Regions from separate parts of the Homo sapiens genome. Here regions 1 and 3 are each linked to region 2. The links are contacts of gene promoters, found by promoter capture Hi-C in human tissues and cell types (Jung and others, 2019). All regions are on one chromosome and are shown on one strand. The core of a region is centred on a gene start or on the middle of the fragment in contact, and the rest is flanking DNA. Distances in the headings are between cores, read along the strand shown.

Region 1 (4,095 bases), core at 1-2,500, 270 kb before region 2:
TATACACACACACAATGATTTACAATATATAATGATTTACACATTTAGCCAGTCATTTCAGGAATCCTAATAAAAATACATATTATCTTTTGGAATGAAGGGTCTTATAATTAATAATTTGTAGATTTAAGATATGATCAATCAAGAAAAATATTATTCTGTCATTCCCCATCAAAATAACTTTTTGGCCAGGCACAGTGTCTCATGCCTTTAATCCTAGCACTTTGGGAGGCCAAGGTGGGCAGATTGCTTGAGCTCAGGAGTTCGAGACCAGCCTGGGCAACATGGTGAAACCCATCTCTACAAAAGATAAAAAAATTAGCCCAGCATGGTGACGTAAGCTTGTAGTCCCAATTACTTGGGAAGCTGAGGTGGGAGGATCACCTAAGCCCAGGGAGGTCGAGGCTGCAATGAGCTGTGATCGCACCACTGCACTCCAGCCAGGGTGACAGAGTGAAACCCTGTCTCAAAAACAACAAAAAAAAACTATTTTAAAAAATTTTTAGGTAACAGGATTTTTTTCATTCATTCAATTACTTTTTTTTTGTTTGAGACAGAGTCTCGCTTTGTCACCCAGGCTGGAGTGCAGTGGTGTGATCTCGGCTCACTGCAACCTCCACTTCCCAGGTTCAAGCAATTCTCCTGCCTCAAGCTCCTGAGTAGCTGGGATTATAGGTGTGCGCCACTGTGCCCAGCTAATTTTTTGTATTTTTAGTAGAGACAGGGTTTCACCATGTTGGCCAGGCTGGTCTCGAACTCCTGACCTCAAGTGATCCATCTGCCTCAGCATCCCAAAGTGCTAGGATTACAGGTGTGAGCCACCTCACCTGGCCCATTCAACTACTTTATATTAAACACCTCCATGGGTTATGCACTGTGCTAGGCCCTAGGGATACAAGGGTGTACACAATGAATATGATTCTTTTCCTCTTGGCTCTCACTATATGATGGAGGGAGACAGACAGAAAATTATAATAGTCAGTTATAATTGTACATGATATCTACTCTGATAGGATAGATAAAGGGCCAGAGAAGGCTTCTCTGAGAATAGTAGAATCTATGTGAAGACTTGAAGGATGAAAAGGAGTTGCTTAAGTTATGGGTGAGGGAGTCATAGATGTATAAGCTGGACGTGAGAGCATGGAATGTTCAGGAACTCAGACATCAACATAGCTAGTGTAGAGTGTGAAGCAGGAAAGTAACCAGAAATGAAGATAGAGAAGTATTTAGTGTTAAGATGGTAGAGATGTACTTTTTTGTACCCTATATAAATGTATAAGGATGTGTTTTTGTGTTTTTAATGCTGTTCTTACAATGACTTAAGTAATCGCTGTAAGTTAATAGATAACCTGATTAAGAAAACTCTATGGCTAGGCGCGGTGGCTCACGCCTGTAATCCCAGCACTTTGGGAGGCCAAAGCGGATGGATCATGAGGTCAGGAGTTCGAGACCAGCCTGAACATGGTGAAACCCCGTCTCTACTAAAAATACAAAAATTAGCCGGGCGTGGTGGCGCGCGCATGTAATCCCAGGTACTCAGGAGGCTGACGCAGGAGAATCGCTTGAATCTGGGAGGCGGAAGTTGTAGTGAGCCGAGATCGTGCCACTGCACTCCAGGCTGGGCGACAGAGCAAGAGTCTGTCTCAAAAAAAAAAAAAAAAGAAAGAAAGAAAGAAAGAAAACTCTACTGGATCTAGTTATTAGTTTATAATTTCTTAACTTATTCTTCTAGTATGAAGAGTTAATGGAAGCCTTTAAAACTTTGCATAAAGAATATGAGCAGCTCAAGATATCTGGATTTTCTACAGCAGAAATAAGAAAGGTAAAGGAAAGAAAACATAGTAACAATTTTTTTGGGATTTGAATAATATTGGATTTAGCATTTTATTAATTCAGTATGAGTCTTAAGACTATATGGAGACTAGTGATAGCAAATGGCACATTTTACTTTGTGGGGGGACCTTTGGTAGTTCCTTACTGATGAAATTGATGAGACTGGGGTAAATTCACGATGAGTAGTTACTTACAGTACGGAAGAAGAGTGATATATGTCCATCTACTATTCCTCCATTATGTCCTGTAAGTAAACCAGAATAATGACAAGAACCTAGAGTCTATATTTTAATTTATTCATTATTACTAAAGCTTTCTCTCTCTTTTTTTTTTTTTTTTTTGAGACAGGGTCTCACTCTGTCATTCAGACTGGAGTACAGTGGTGTGATCACAGCTCACTACAGTCTCGACATCCCAGGTTCAAATGATCCACATGCCTGAGCCTCCTGAGTAGCTGGGACTACAGGCATGCGCCACCATGCCCAGCTAATTTTTGTATTTTTTTGTAGAGACGGGATTTTGCCATGTTGCCCGGGTTGGTCTTGACCTCCTGGGCTCAAGCTATCCTCCCACCTTGGCCTCTCAAAGTACTGGGATTATAGGCATGAGCCACTGCTGCACCTAGCCTTTATTTCTTGTTTAATCATATTTTCTAAATTTTCTACAAAGCATATGTTCAAGAATACTTTAGTAGGCCAGGCATGGTAGCTCATGCCTGTAATCCAAACACTTTGGGTGGCCGAGGCTGGAGGATCATTTGAGCCCAAGAGTTTGAGACCAGCCTGGGCATGATGGCAAGATTCTGTCTCCAGAAAAAAAAAAAAAAACAAATTAGCCAGGCATGGTGGTGCACGCCTGTAGTCCCAGCTACTCAGGAAGCTGAGGCAGGAGGATCACTTGAGCCTGGGAGTTCAAGGCTGCAGTGAGCTATGATCATACCACTGCACTCTAGCTGGGTGACAGAGTGAGAACTTGTCTCAAAAAAAAAGAAAAGAAAAAATAATTCACTCATAATCTCGTTCTCCAGAGACAACTATGGTTGACATTTTGATAAATATATTTAAATCTTTTTCTTGGTATTCTGTAGATAAATGTTGTAATCCGCCTCTTTCAATTAATGTCATTTCATGACTTTTTCTCATGTCATTAAACATTCTTCTGCATGATTTTTAATGACTTTCATTGTATTATGTGGTGATTTATTTAACAATCCTCATACATTTTGGTCATTTCCAAATTGTAGATGTAACTTGCATTAATGAGAATCTTTACAGAGGATGTCTTTTCATGAATGTTTTATTCGGACAAATCATCAGATATAAAATTACTGGGCTAGAAGGGATGAACATTTATTTTAAGATTTTTTTTTTTGAGACGGAGTCTCACTCTGTCACCCAGGGTGGAGTGCAATGGCGCAATCTTGGCTCACTGCAACCTCCACCTCCTGGGTTCAAGCGATTCTCCTGCCTCAGCCTCCCAAGTAGCTGGGATTACAGGCACTTGCCACCACGCCTGGCTAGTTTTGTATTTTTAGTAGAGACAAAATTTCAACATGTTGGCCAGGCTATATTTTAAGACTTTTGATATTGTTCTTCAGTACAGTGCTATCGGTAATGAGTAAGAGTGCCCATTTTTCCAAATTCTGTCAATACTGACTACCGTGTATATTTTACCTTTACTATTACTGCGATATTTAAGCTATTAGTTTTTTAGATTTAGGAAGGAGTTTTTTTATTTGTTTGTTTTTATAACAAAATACTATGAAGCTGGTTAACAGGAAGGAAGTTTATTTTTGAAGTCTTTATTTTCAGAGACGGAATTGGTTCATTGGAAAAACCAGGTACAAACTTATGTCATGAAAATACCATAGCCTTAAAAATAATTTTGATGGAAAATTGGCAAAATATATGGCTTGGTATTTAACAGAACAGATGGGATGTCAGCAGCTGTTGTTCATGTATTTAGACCTGCACACTTTCCATTATAGAAAATTTTTCAAAAATCATGTGCCCATATTTGGAATCAGAACACAAATGTGCTGGTTGGCAGCTTTACCTTGCTGCATTATAACTGGTTTTTGTTGCATTTCTGGATGAACACCAAGCTGCCAAAAAAATTACCCTGCATAAGAAGCCCTGGGGGAAAAATAGAAATGACCTTCATCCAAAAGAGGATCTTGGTTGTTAATGCTGTGGTTATAAATGATGAAAATGTTAGATGCATAATCAAAATAAAACCTTATCTGTTTCCTACAGACTGAGA
Region 2 (3,608 bases), core at 176-2,675:
ATTTGCCTTCAGAGGCCATGGGAAAGAATTTTCATAAGTGCAATAAAGGATTTTTTTTTTTTTTTGAGACGGAGTCTCGCTCTGTCGTCCAGGCTGGAGTGCAGTGGTGCTACTTCGGCTCACTGCAAGCTCCGCCTCCCGGGTTCACGTTATTCTTCTGCCTCAGCCTCCCGAGTAGCTGGGACTACAGGCGCCCGCCACCACGCCTGGCTAAATTTTTTTGGTATTTTTTAAGCAGAGACGGGGTTACACTGTGTTAGCCAGGATGATCTCGATCTCCTGACCTCGTGATCCGCCCGCCTCGGCCTCCCAAAGTGCTGGGATTACAGGCATGAGCCACTACGCCCGGCCAATAAAGGATATTAAGCAGGAGAGGGACATGCACTCAAGGATGGAATCAGCTCAGTGCTTCAAGGAAACATGAAAGGCGCCACGCCCACCCATTAATGGAGTCTCCCGTTTCCTTTTTTTGAGACAGGCAGTCGTTCTGTCGCCCACGGTAAAGGACAATGATGCGATCACGGCTCACTGCAGCCTCGACCTCCTGGGTTCAAGCGATCCTCCTGCCTCAGCCTCCCGAGTAGCTGGGACCGCAGGCACGCACCATCACGCCCGGCTAATTGTTTAATTTTTACTTTTCGTAGAGGCAGGGTCTCCCTATGTTGCCCAGGTTGGTCTTGAACTCCTGGGCTCAAGCGATCCTCCCGCCTCGGCCTCCCAAAGGGCTCGTATTAGAGGCGTGAGCCACCGCGCCCGGCCCCGTTTTCAGGGGTTTCCCAAGGCCAGAAAGTGGACCCTCCTGATACACTTAACGGGGGGACCAATCTCAGATGCGGGGGCTAGCGCATAAAAACCAGGAGGCTGGGTCCCTGAGCTGCAGCGAGAGAAAAAAACGTTCTTCTGGAAGGAGCCGAGAGGGAAGGATTCAGCCTAGCGATGTGACAGTCGCGCTGCCCCGCGACAGGTGCCTCAGGAAACCCTCGCCTGGGTCGTCCTCAGAGCCTCTGCCTTCTATGTCTCCAAGCCGCCGCTCGCCACATCCCCGCGGGACTTGACGCCGGCACCCAGTGAACCCAACTTGCGCTCCGAAGTCTGCTCCGCTCCAGGACGCCCTCGCAGACCCCGGAGCCTCCGCTGGCGCCGGCGGCCGCTCCTTCCCGCCTGTTCCCACGTGCCCTGAGCCCCCGCTCCCAGACCGCCGCCGCTTTCTCCTCAGCCCCAGGCAGCTACCCGCCTCAACTCACGGGTTGTTATTACTCATTGTAAGTAACAAGCTGCTGAGGAGCCGCACGTTGGAGTGCAGCCCCGCGGCCGCCATGTCCCGCACGTGGTCTATCACATTCATCCTGCTCTGCAAAGCCGCGGGCAGCGGCGGCAGCACTGACTCGAAAAGCCGGTAGAGGATCCTTAGGGAAGACTCCAAAATGGCGGCGTCGCCGGGGTCCATCGGGTCCACACGCGGCACCACCCCCAAGCAAGAGGTAACTACTGAAGTGCCCGAATAAAAAGAAACTCGAGTCCCTGCTCCTGTCGTGGTCCTTTTCAGGTGAAATGAGTTGTTATTTTTACGCAAAAATCACGTTATCATCCTAAACTGCAAACTTTACTGAGGATTTACAATGAGACAAAAGGCACCTTATAAGACTACTCGGTCAATTTGAATGAGTCTGAGAGGAATTTGTGCCTCTCAGAAATTAAAATGTGTGGGTATTTACCGAAATAAAATACAGTAAGGTGAGGAAAAACGCTCCAACTGGAATTAAATATTCTAATCGGGCGCCAGGGACAGACCTAACGGCCTTTACAGTGGCGCATGCGCACCAGGCTAGGGCCGCCGCGCCCCTCCTCAGGTGTTTTGTGTTCCTGCCAAGTCAGGCTTCGGCCCTGGGGGAACTCCTTGGTTCGAGGGGTATATTTCCCCATGTAAAATTATTCCCTAGATCCGTGGAAATAAAGGCTGGATCCAGGAATTAGCTGATACCCATATAAACCAGTATGTGTCTGGCACACTTAACGTTTTAGGAAAGTTTTACACAAGTTATTGGGACGCTCACAACAATCCATAAAGTTGAAGTTGTCATTCCCTTCCCACAAGGGAAGAAACTGCCTGCTTAAATTTTGTGCTCAGGTTGTTAAATGGTTGACTTGGAATCAGATCGACTGGTTAATTATGTTGGATCGCAAACTCAAATGTATACAGGGACCAGGGAGGTAACTGAGCCAATGAGGCAGTTTAGGTCGTTGAGTCAGAGTCCGAATATTCTCCACAGTCATCCTCTCAGATCTAGCCTATCGCTCCTTTCTTAAAGGAGACAGTCGTTTTGGTCTAGATTTTGTTTTCATTTGATTTTTACAGTAGTAGATGCAAAAAAAATGCTCTGAAAAAATCACAGTGTATCTTCATCAGCAACTTTTTCAGCTCTTAACATTTTGTCACAGTTGAAGCTCCTGTAGATCCTTTTCCCATCTCATCCCCTACTCTAGTTTCCTGGATGTGTGAGACCTTCTATTTGATTTTGGTGGGCATCATCACTGTGAACTTTTCTTTTTTCTTTTTTTCGAGACGGAGTTTTGCTCTTGTCGCCCAGGCTGGAGTGCAAAATCTCAGCTCACTGCAACCTCTGTCACCCGGGTTCAAGGAATTCTCCCTGCCTCAGCTTCCCGAGTAGCTGGGATTACAGGCGCCTGCCACCACTGTCATGTGCGTCCGTGTGAAGAGACCACCAAACAGGCTTTGTGTGAGCAACAAGGCTGTTTGTTTCACCTGGGTGCAGGCAGGATGGTAGCAGCACGAGCCATAGGCAAAACTCCTCAGACACCAAGTTAAAGAAGGAAGGAGTATATTCGGCTGGGAGCATCAGCAAGGCTCCTGTCTCAAGAGCCGAGCTCCCCGAGTGAGCAATTCCTGTCCCTTTTAAGGGCTCACAATTCTAAGGGGGTCCGCGTGAGAGAGTCGTGATCGATTGAGTAAGCAGGGGGTACATGACATGCACCGGTGGTCAGAGTGAAACAGACCGGGAAGTTTCACAATGTCTTTCTATAATCTGTAGATAACATCAGTTGCTAGGTCAGGGGTCAGTTAAGGCAGGAACCGGCCCTTTTCACTTCTTTTGTGATTCTTCAGTTACTTCAGGCCATCTGGATGTACACATGCAGGCTTGGGTTCAGAGGCCTGACATTCCTGTCTTCTTACGTTAACAAGAAGAATAAAACGAAATAGTCGTAAAGTGTTGCGGCAGCGAAAATTTTTGGGGGTGGTATGGAGAGATAATGGGCGATGTTTTTCAGGGCTGCTTCAAGTGGGATTGGGGGTGGTGTGTGGGAACCTAGAGTGGGAGAGATTAAGCTGAAAGAAGATTTTGTGGTAAGGGACAATATTGTGGGGTTGTTAAAAGGAGCATTTGTCGTATAGAATGATTGGTGATGGCCTGGATGCAGTTTTGTATGAATTGAGAAACTAAATGAAAGACACAAGGTCTGAATTAAGAGAAGGAGAAAAACAGGTATTAAATAACTAAGAATTGGGAGGACCCAGGACATCCAATTAGAGAGTGCTCAAGGGGGTTCAGCATAATTACCTGCTTGGTTGGTGAGTTTTGGGGCTCTAT
Region 3 (3,912 bases), core at 788-3,287, 340 kb before region 2:
GAGAAGAAAATGGGGGAGAGCCAGCACCCCCAAGGCAAGTTAAATCCCAATTATATTAGTTTCTGTAACAAATTACCACTAACTTAGTGGCTTTCAACAACACTAATGTATTCCTTTCCACTTTTGGGGGTTAGATTCCTAAAGTCAGTCTAACAGGGTAAAAATCAAGGGCTAAAAAGAAAAAATATAAATTAAGATCCCAGCTGGGCGCAGTGACTCACGCCTGTAATCCCAGCACTTTGGGAGGCCAAGGCAGGTGGATAACTCGAGGTCAGGAGTTTGAGACCAGCTTGCCCAACATGGCAAAACCCCGTCTTTACTAAAAATACAAAAATTAGCCAGGCACAGTGGTGGGCGCCTATAATCCCAGCTACTCGGGAGGCTGAGGTGGGAGAATCATTTGAACCCATGAGGCGGGGATTGCAGTGAGCCAAGATCACGCCATTGCAAACTCCAGCCTGAGCAACAGAGAGAGACTCGGTCTCAAAAAAAAAAAAAAAAAAAAAAAAAGAAGATCCCAGCACAAATCACTCAGGCAATCATTGTTGAAACTTTTGAGTGTCTTCTAGATATCTCTTTATGTCCACACCTAGACACACAAACAGATATACTGATGTTACAAACGTGGCCACACTACAGGCTGCAGGCTGTTTTGTAACTTGCTATTTTTACTCAATAATATGTTATTAATTCTTTCTATGACAGTAAAGATATCTGTGATAAAGATAGATCTATGATACACAATCATTTTCAGTGGCTAAAGAGTATCCTAGTGATTGAATATATGAAACTGCCCATTTTGGCAGGTCATGGTGCCTCACGCCTGTAATCCCAGCACTTTGGGAGGCCAAGGCGGGCAGATCACTTGAGGCCAGGAGTTCAAGACCAGGCTGGCCAACATGGCGGAAACCCTGTCTCTACTAAAAATGCAAAAATTATCCAGTTGTGGTGGTGCATGCTTGTAATCCCAGCTACTTGGGAGGCTGAGGCAGGAGAATCACTTGAACCTGGAAGGCGGAGGTTGCAGTGAGCCGAGATCATGCCACTGCACTGCACTTCAGCCTGGGCAACAGAGTGAGACTCTCTCTCCAAAAAAAAGAAAAGAAAGAAAGAACTGCCCATTTTGTAGGCCATAGCTATAGAATACAGGCAGTTCCATATGGCTCAAGCTAAGAGGTACATTGTGATAATTTGCCAGTCAGTCTCTGGGATAGATATTTAACTGTAACTTTTGTTCAATTTTCCCAATTATAAACAATTTTTGGTAACCCTAATATGTCCTTACCATGTGCCAACCACTCTTCTAAGTCTATTTTGCTGACATATATTAACTTTTGCAATTCTTACTCCCCCCCACCAAAAAAATGAAAACAAAAACCAACTCTATAAGGAAGGTGCTAGTATTACCTCCACCTAATAGCCGAACAAACTGTGGTATGAATGAAGCGAGAAGCTTGTCCAAGGTCACATGGTAAACAGCAGCGCCAGCTCTGAACGCAGCCATCTGGCTCCACAGCCTCAGCTCTCTTAAATGCTATGGTAAATGGAATTATTTTTCCAATTTCCTTTTCAAATGTTCCTTGCTGGTGTAAAAAAAAATGCACACACACAATTAATTTTTGTGTGTTGATCTTGTTCCTTGCGACTTTACTGAATTGGTTAATTAGCTCTATCTAATAGTTTTCTTGTGAATTCTTCGGGATTCTCCATATATGGGATTGTGCCATCTGTGATTAAAGATAGTTTTACTTCATTCTTTGCCATCTGGATGCCTTTTATTGCTTTTCTTGTCTAATTGCTCTGGCTAGAACTTCCAGTACAATGTTGAACAGCAGCGGTGAAAGCGGGCATCCTCGTCCTGTTCCTGATCTCAGGAAGAATGCACTCAGGCTATGCTCCTAACAACTGTGCTCACTGTCTGTCCACCCCACATTCATGTTGCCAGAAATCCCTGCACAAGCTTCTTCACACACCTAAGGCATTAAGTCTATACAGGACTTCTGGGTCAAAGGGTGTGCACATTTTCTATCTGAGTTTATTTTCCTAAATCATAAATGCTTGAACCATTTCATGCTTCCATCACCAAAGCAAGAGTGTGTACACTGCCTCTTAAGAGGGGCTTGACAAACAAGCGGTGTGAACTTGGTTGAGACAGTTGAGGGTCTGGTCGCCAGGCTGAGAGCACATGGCCTGTAGGATGGAGGCTGTGAGTTTGAAGAAGAGGAGAGACATAGTAGCAGTGTGCAGCCATTTGAAGAGGGACACAAGGCAAAACTAAGCAAAGGTGAAAGTTACAGGGGGAAAGATTTTGGCTCATTTTCTCAGGAAGAAAAGTGACAGGGCAGTCCCAGAGCAGAACAAGCTTTCCTTGTGGTTACTGCTGGTGATGGTGAGGAAGATGATGAAGATAATTTTCATTTACCACATCAACTTCCCTTTCTCTCCTGTCCCCTTTCCATCTGCACTTAACATCATTTCTCTACTAAAAATACAAAATTAGCCAGGCATGGTGGCACATGCCTGTATTCCCAGCTACTCAGAAAGCTGAGGCAGGAGAATAGCTTGAACCCCAGAGGCGGAGGTTGCGGTGAGCCGAGATCACCCCATTACACTCCAGCCTGTGCAACAAGAGTGAAACTCTGTCTCCAAAATACCCCCTCTTCAATCCCACATTCTCTTACCACCACTCCATGCCTCTCTTCTTCATAGCCAAGTCCCCTGAAAGAGTGAGTCATCATATCCATTTCTGCATCTCCATTCACTCCTCCGCCCACTCCAGTCTGGCTCCCACCCCCATCCCTTCTCTAAAGCCTCTCTTGCCAAGTAAACAACAACGTCATTGTCACTAAATCCAATAGACACACCACATAGCTGATCTTCCTGGAACTCTCAGCACCAGTTGACACTGTGACCATGCCCCACCTCCCTCACCTCCTTCCCTTAGCTTGCAGGAATCCACCTTTGCCTGACTTTCATTGGATCTCTGTGGCTACTCCTTCTCAGAATCCTTTGGGGACTTCAGCACTCCCACCCCTTAAAGGTTAGCCCTTCTCCGGGGTCGGTTCTAGGCCCTCTTGCTTTCTCATCTACTTCTTCTCTTGCTGGTGAATTGCAGCTTCTTCCATGGTTCTAGTTCCCATCTATATGCTGGTGATATAGAAACCTACATCTCAGGCCAGGCGCAGTGGTTCATGCCTGAAATCCCAGCACTTTGGGAGGCTGAGGTGGGCGGATCACCTGAGGCCAGGAGTTCAAGACCAGCCTGCCCAACATGGTGAAACCCAATCTCTACTAAAAATACAAAATTAGCCAGGTGTGGTGGCGGGCACCTGTAATCCCAGCTACTCAGGAGGCTGAGACAGGAGAATCACTTGAGCCCGGGAGGCGGAGGATGCAGTGAGCTAAGATCGCACAACTGCCCTCATATCCCTTAGCTCATTGCAATAGAGGAAGAGTAATTCATGCAGAGCCAGCTCTGTGGGGGAGACCAGAGACTCTGACTCAAAAAAAAAAAAAAAAAAGAAACCTACATCTCAGCTCCAGATTCATATATCCAACCACCTATTCAACATCTACATGCATATGTTCCATGAACACTTCGAACTCAATGCCTTCAGTTCTGACCTCATCTTCCACCCCAAATTGGCTCTTTCTCCTGCATTTCCTATCCCAGCAAGTTATTCCAGCACCTATCAGTTGTCCAAGCCAGAAACATGGCACACTCCTTGACTCATTCTCTCCCTCTTTCCCCCTCACCCATTCAGTTGCCAAATCCTACTGTTTTACCTTTCTAATATTGCTCGAAGTCATCTACTTCTCTCCTCTGCCTCTACTACCTCCTCAGTCCAGGTCACCATCAGCTTTCCTATCTGGACAACCCAATGGTCTCCTAAATGGTCTCCTTTCCTCCAG

Evidence for each region. Contacts are between HindIII fragments. The study calls those that stand out against the background at their distance.
Region 1: a fragment that was not itself captured here is called in contact with the fragment with the promoter of ANAPC7 in region 2 in 1 of the 25 tissues and cell types used here (dorsolateral prefrontal cortex).
Region 3: a fragment that was not itself captured here is called in contact with the fragment with the promoter of ANAPC7 in region 2 in 2 of the 25 tissues and cell types used here (dorsolateral prefrontal cortex and heart left ventricle).

The regions. Positions count from the first base shown.
Region 1 is chr12:110,130,815-110,134,909 of GRCh38, forward strand. IFT81 (intraflagellar transport 81) reads left to right here. Exons shown (of 19, transcript NM_014055.4): 5 at 1,733-1,822. Among named protein-coding and RNA genes, the nearest start is that of IFT81, 8.5 kb to the left of the region's middle. The HindIII fragment of the contact is 5,126 bases long and covers 1-3,813 here.
Region 2 is chr12:110,402,283-110,405,890 of GRCh38, forward strand. ANAPC7 (anaphase promoting complex subunit 7) reads right to left here and starts at 1,426. Exons shown (of 11, transcript NM_016238.3): 1 at 1,245-1,426. The coding sequence starts at 1,345. The HindIII fragment of the contact is 28,063 bases long and covers 1-3,608 here.
Region 3 is chr12:110,057,581-110,061,492 of GRCh38, forward strand. It overlaps a transcript of C12orf76 not described here. Among named protein-coding and RNA genes, the nearest start is that of C12orf76, 11 kb to the left of the region's middle. The HindIII fragment of the contact is 4,989 bases long and covers 1-3,912 here.